Linked DNA regions of Homo sapiens: region 1 is linked to region 2. The links are contacts of gene promoters, found by promoter capture Hi-C in blood cells and fetal thymus (Javierre and others, 2016). All regions are on one chromosome and are shown on one strand. Each heading gives the region's core, a stretch centred on a gene start or on the middle of the fragment in contact. The rest is flanking DNA. Distances are from core to core; before and after follow the strand shown. Region 1 overlaps TSHZ2 (teashirt zinc finger homeobox 2). Region 2 holds the start of ZFP64 (ZFP64 zinc finger protein).

The links. The method cuts DNA at HindIII sites, captures the fragments that hold promoters and counts their contacts. A CHiCAGO score of 5 or more calls a contact.
Region 1: a contact is called between a fragment that was not itself captured here and the fragment with the promoter of ZFP64 in region 2, in 1 of 17 cell types (naive CD8 T cells). The highest score is 5.8, in naive CD8 T cells.

The regions. Positions count from the first base shown.
Region 1 is chr20:53,177,187-53,180,021 of GRCh38, forward strand. All of the region lies in intron 1 of TSHZ2 (teashirt zinc finger homeobox 2), which reads left to right. Among named protein-coding and RNA genes, the nearest start is that of TSHZ2, 210 kb to the left of the region's middle. The HindIII fragment of the contact is 226 bases long and covers 1,334-1,559 here.
Region 2 is chr20:52,190,426-52,193,301 of GRCh38, forward strand. It overlaps ZFP64 (ZFP64 zinc finger protein), which reads right to left and starts at 1,354. Exons shown (of 6, transcript NM_018197.3): 1 at 1,166-1,354. The coding sequence starts at 1,211. RefSeq lists enhancers at 209-1,065, 2,106-2,235 and silencers at 826-1,065, 1,426-1,695. The HindIII fragment of the contact is 28,170 bases long and covers 1-2,876 here.

The DNA.
Region 1 (2,835 bases), core at 197-2,696, 990 kb after region 2:
GTATGCATCTTTGTAACCTACCTGCCTTACCAGGGGTAAAAGGACACCTAAACCAGCTCCCAGGAAAACCTCTGTCCTTACCCAGCATGGTTTTAGATTCCAATACAGGTTAAAATTGCCGTGGCTCATGTGAAGATGAAGAGTTAGTATAAATTGTTAGTTCAGGATTTAGTGGAGTGCATCTCAAATTTTAATGTGCGTATGAATCTACTGGGGATCTCATTAAAATGTAGATTCTGATTCAGCAGATCTGTGCCGAGATTCTACATTTCCAAGGAGCCTTCACTGGTGCACATACGGCTGGTCCTCAAACCACACTTGAAGAAGCAAGGCTTTAGACTTGCCCTTTAATTCCAGTTCTTTCTTCAGGGCTGCATTAGGTCTTCCATGAATCCTTGGCACCTTTACCTTCGGGGCCCCTCGCATTTAAAAAGATATTAAAAATTATATCCTATGATTACATTAGTATACAGACAAATATGTTAATCTACATTTAAGCAGTTTCTTCTATCTAAAAGTTCATTATTTTTCTTCTGATTTTAAAATAAATAAAAATCTGGTCATGGACCCACACATAATGTTTCTAGGGACAGTTCCTAGGTGCTCTCCCTACAGTGCCCAAGGTAGGACTTGATCCCAATGTTGAGAGGAGTTGCCCCTTACTGACTTCATGCTGAAACTCTCAGAGCCTCTATTTCCTCATCTGTAAAATGGGGATCACAGTATCTCTCGCACTGCTTTGGCTCTTTGCACAGTGCCTGGTGCATTGTAAGCACTCTGGAAATGTTAGCTTTTGTCTCCAAAAGTTACCTGGCTCCCCGTTAGCTGTCACTGTCTCATGACCTATTAAAAGTCAGATCCTACACACATCACTGCTGCTCTCTTAAAGCTGTTTGATATGTCCTACTGGTTGCATGACCTGGATAATTTCCATAAATTAACCTCTTTTACCTTCCATTTCTGCGCTACCCTGCTGTTCCTCTTCTGGAAGGACCCTATCATCTCTTGGACGCAGCAGACAGCGATGCCACACGAACTTCTGCCATGACACTCGGCACCTCCCGCGAGTGCTCAGACACTCATCTGCAGCTTGCTCTCTAAACTCATCATTTCTGTAGAAAGGCAGCACAGCCCCTGATGGATCTGGAATTAACTGTCGATTTTTCTGCCTGTCACTCTGAGAAGAGGAAGGGACCATAGAGCTAATCACATGAGGCATCACCATCACTGTTTTCATGTTCTTTTGTTTATCTTAGCCCCTGACTCCTCTTGATTGTACTTGCCTCAATCCTAAGACTCTGTCCATTGTAAAACATGCTGTAGATTTGGCCAAAGCTTTTTTGGGGAGGAGTGAGTGAGAGGTGGAGAAGGAACCCTCGCATATTAAATGTACACACAAATTGCATCCCAATTTCATGTGGAAATTAAAATAAGGTGATTTCAGAGTGAAGGAAATGCAATCATGTTTTATGGAGTTTGATAAAATCCCATAGTCTCATTAAGGAAATAGTCATCACCAGGATGTGGGCCTCACTTTATAAGAAGATAGAGTAAAATGAAGCTTAATTTTCCTTTGTAATATTTTTGATACTTCCAAATAGTGATAGCATCCAGTCATAGCATCGCCAAATGATAGATGCAGAATTTGCTATAAATTTGGATTTTCAAGCTATATCCTTTTTCATTTTCTTCTATAGGAATTCCTATCACATGTACTCTTTGAAGTAGTAATGTAAGATCTTAAGTTTTCATAAGCACTTTGCATTGCAATTCAGAGCATCCACTCATGCGAAACATAAGCTGTAGTTTTAGTGTGATTTTTTTAAAGGGGAAAGGGGTCAAACCCTTGCCAGTTGGTCAAACTCTTTTCTTTTTAGTTTATCTTCATCACAGTCCAAATCTTTCTCATTGAACGGGAAACATTTTCTGATCTCAACCTTTATTGATACAAATGTTGATTTTTTTTTTTTTAAGGAAAAGAGTATCTCCTTCCTCAAAAGGGATTTCATTTGAGTGTTTCTTTCTCATTTTCTTCGAAGTAATTCTTCCAAATTGACCCACACCACATCGAGTCTTGGTCTCCACTGCCAACCTCAATTATAAAATGGAAACTAGGTGAACAAATTATCAAACCTCTGTATGGGAAATGTGGAAAACATTTAGAAATATTCACCAAGATTTACTTCCAGCCATCATGACTTAATCACAGGTGCTGCATCCGTAATTTTCACCTTACAGAAAGTACATAAGCAGCTTTGCAGATTTCAGTGCTAGGATGCCAAAGGATCCAGAGAAGTCATAGGTGAGACTTCAGGTGGACAAACTACCTGGACAGTTGACAAGGTTTCCGGCTGTTCCAGAAGCTCACGTGCCACCTGAGTAGGCTTACTGAGTGATAGCCCATAATTGACAGGTATTACCTCTTGACTCTGAACATCTGGTCTCCCATTTACTCCCTCCCCTGGTTCTTCTGTGACCCATCGTCATTGTCCAGGCGGCCTTGCCTGTTGAACATATCGCTTGACCAGCACTGCTTCCTGGATATCTGTAGAGCCTTTGGCATACCCACACGTGTATTTTATAAAATTTAAGTTCAAACTAAAGCGTGCTGGGGGCCAGAGAAGATAAATGCCAGCTTTTTTATCGTCAAGGTAACGATAAGAGATTCACTAGAATTTACATAGCACCAAAGTCGATTTACGTGCTTATTTACTCTGTTGTTCTCCTTTAAAAAAGATGGAGTTACCCTAGCAACTGTAAGATCACGTGATGTTCAGAATAACCGTAATGGAAACACCTTCTGAAAGGAAAATACGCATTTCACCAGATGCATAT
Region 2 (2,876 bases), core at 104-2,603:
GAAAAATGGGAGGAGAGGTTTCTAATCCATGGTTTTTGTTTGTTTTTAATTTCTCCAAGAAAAAACACGGGCTTGTTATGAGAATTAAATGGGATGGTGCTCGTACCAGCACAGTCCCCCCTCCCCGCCAGTCCCCCAGCATGTTACCTGCTGGGTTCTTACTGAGGTACACTATTTAAACATGGACATATCTGAGCCCCACCTAGGAGATACTGAGTCATAACAGGGTGGGGTGGGGAGGATGGTGTTTAGGAAAATCTGTGCTTTTCACAGTAATGCAAGGAATACACCGCCAAGTTTGGGACCCAGTGTCTCCCAAACTGTTAACAGTAGCAGCTAACAAGCTGGGAGCTTACTATGTGCCAGATTTTCTGCAAACCCCTGGTAGATGGGTTCTCAAACTTCATGTGCTTCAGAGTTGCCCAGGCAGCTACGAAGGACAGCGGATCCCCAGCCCCACCCCCGAGATTGAATGGGTGGGGCCCAGAAAGCTGTTTTAAAATACACGCTCTCGCTCCCAGGTGGCTGGTTGCACTCAGTCTCTGGACCACACTTTGGGAAACAATGCACCGGGAGAAACCAGGGACTTGAAAAACGCTGATGTCCTCCTCGGTTAAATAAAAACTGAACCCCAAACCCAAATAAAGCGACCACGGCCCCGTTTTCCATTCAGATCTCCACCCTTAATGAGGAAAAGGCTTTGCAATGAGCCGGCAGGACCTCGTGAGACCTGGTGATTCCCCCAATCTCCAGGCTCTAATTTTGAGCCACTGAGGCAGAAGTTTTCCCATCAGTGTTGCCCCGTTTACCCTAGATTCCTCCCTTTCTCCTGCCCGCCCCAAACTCCGCCTGATGGGGCGGGAATGCCCTTAGGGGGTGGCGATTGTCTGAACGGCGTGCCCTCCCCCACTGTTCCCTTCCAAGGGGTCTCGCAAGGCTGGAGAGCGCCCCCGGTCTTGCGCCAGGTCGGGTGCGCCCCCACCCCAAGCCCACTCCGGCGCCCCCTGCACAGCGCGCCCGCCGCGGTCCCCGAGACGCGGCTCCGAGCCGTCACCCCGATTTCGGGGCCCCGGGCCTGCTGGCTGCGTCGCAGACGTGCTTGGGCCCGGGCCCCGGAGCGCGCACTGGGCCCCGGAGCGCGCACTGCTCCCGGAAAAGCACTTACTTTGCACCGAGCCCGCGAAGCTCTCGCCCTCGCTGCTCGCGTTCATGGCCGCAGACTGGGAGGTCCCCGGCCGGCCGGGATGCCAAAGTGGGGGACGCTGATCTACATGGTGCAAGGACTTTTCCTTTTATTTTTCCACACCCCCCACCCTGCCTTCTCCCAACTCTGCGAGGCGGGGAGGACGGATGTAAAGCAAGCTGCACTTCCGCTGCCTAGAGGGCGCTGGCCGGGCCCGGCGCCCCAACCTGGCTTTGCAGCAGCGGCTCCCCGGGGAAGCGGCGGGCGAATCCCGAGGCCCAGGCCCGCGGAGCCCCCCAACGCCCCCGGGGAGCTGGATGGCCACGCGCGTCCCGGCGTGCTGGGCGACCGCGGGTGGCGAGGGATGCGCCCCTGCCCGCACTCTGCGTTCTCCGCGGACGCGATTGGCCTCCCCGGCTCGGGGCGCCTTTTGCACCTGCAACCCCAGGCGTTGGGCCCCCAGCGCGGCCGTGCAGCAGCGCTGCTCCCGGGACGCCTGGGTGGTTTGCGGGGAGACCCACGTGCGGCTGCCGTTGCGGGGTGGGTGCGCGGGGCGCGGCGAGCTCCGGAGAAACCCAGGTTGGGCGTGAGCGCTGGGCAAATCAGCAAAGCGCTGGGCGGGTCCCTTGCCCCGCTAGGGAGACTGAGAGGACCGCGAAGAGGTGGGGTCGTAGCGCGGAGGGACCCCTGCTCCAGGAGCTGCCAACTTTATCGTGCATCGCAGTCGCCTGAAAGGCTTGTTAGAACACACGCTGTTGGGCCCACCCTAGCGTTTCTGCTTCAGTAGGTCTGGGGCGAGGCGTGAGAACGAGCATTTCTAAGTTCCCAGGTGATGCCCCTAGTGTTGGTCGGCGTCCACACTCTGAGGACAGTGACCTCTCTGCTCTGTCCCTCATGTCTTACTACTACTGTCTCCCCCGGGCTCCTGCGTCAGCCCTATTGTCTCTCTGCCGACCCTCCCAAGCCTCAGACCTCTCCCAGCCTCGAGGGATTTGCCCATAGAGTCTGTCCTGCTTCTGAAGGTCAGCATTCAAATTCACACTCAGGGAGGCCATGCTTGGCCTAATCTAATCATTCTAATATTGCAGCCCCCTCCTCCTCCCCCAACCACTCCCTGTCTCCTTCCTGTTTTTTTCTTTTTCTTTTTCTTTTCTTTTCTTTTCTTTTCTTTTCTTTTCTTTTCTTTTCTTTTCTTTTCTTTTCTTTTCTTTCTTTCTCTCTCTCTGCCTCTCTCTCTTTCTCCCTTTCTTTTTTTAGAGAGGGGGTCTTTCTCTGTCTCTCAGGCTGGAAGAGTGGTCGGATCCTAGCTCATTGCAGCCTCCAACTCCTGGGCTCAAGCAATCCCCCCTACAGGCGTGGGCCACCACCCTGGCTCACTTTTTAATTTTTATTTTTGTAGAGATGTTGCCCAGGCTGGTCTCGAATTCCTGGCCTCAAGCGATCCTCCATCAGCCTCCCAAAGTGCTGGGGTTACAGGTGTAAGCCACCATGCCTGGCCTGCTTTGTCCTTAAAAGGTGTTAGATGGAACATATTATGTATCTCGAGTATATCTGCTTAGATATAATTTAGTTGTATATTATCTGTGTTCTCCTCCCCCTTATTTTCAGTAAGTCCCTGTAAAAATGGGGATTAAAAAAATCTCTTTGCTTCACTGATGTAGTCCAGTGACTTGGCTGGTGCCTGACACATAGT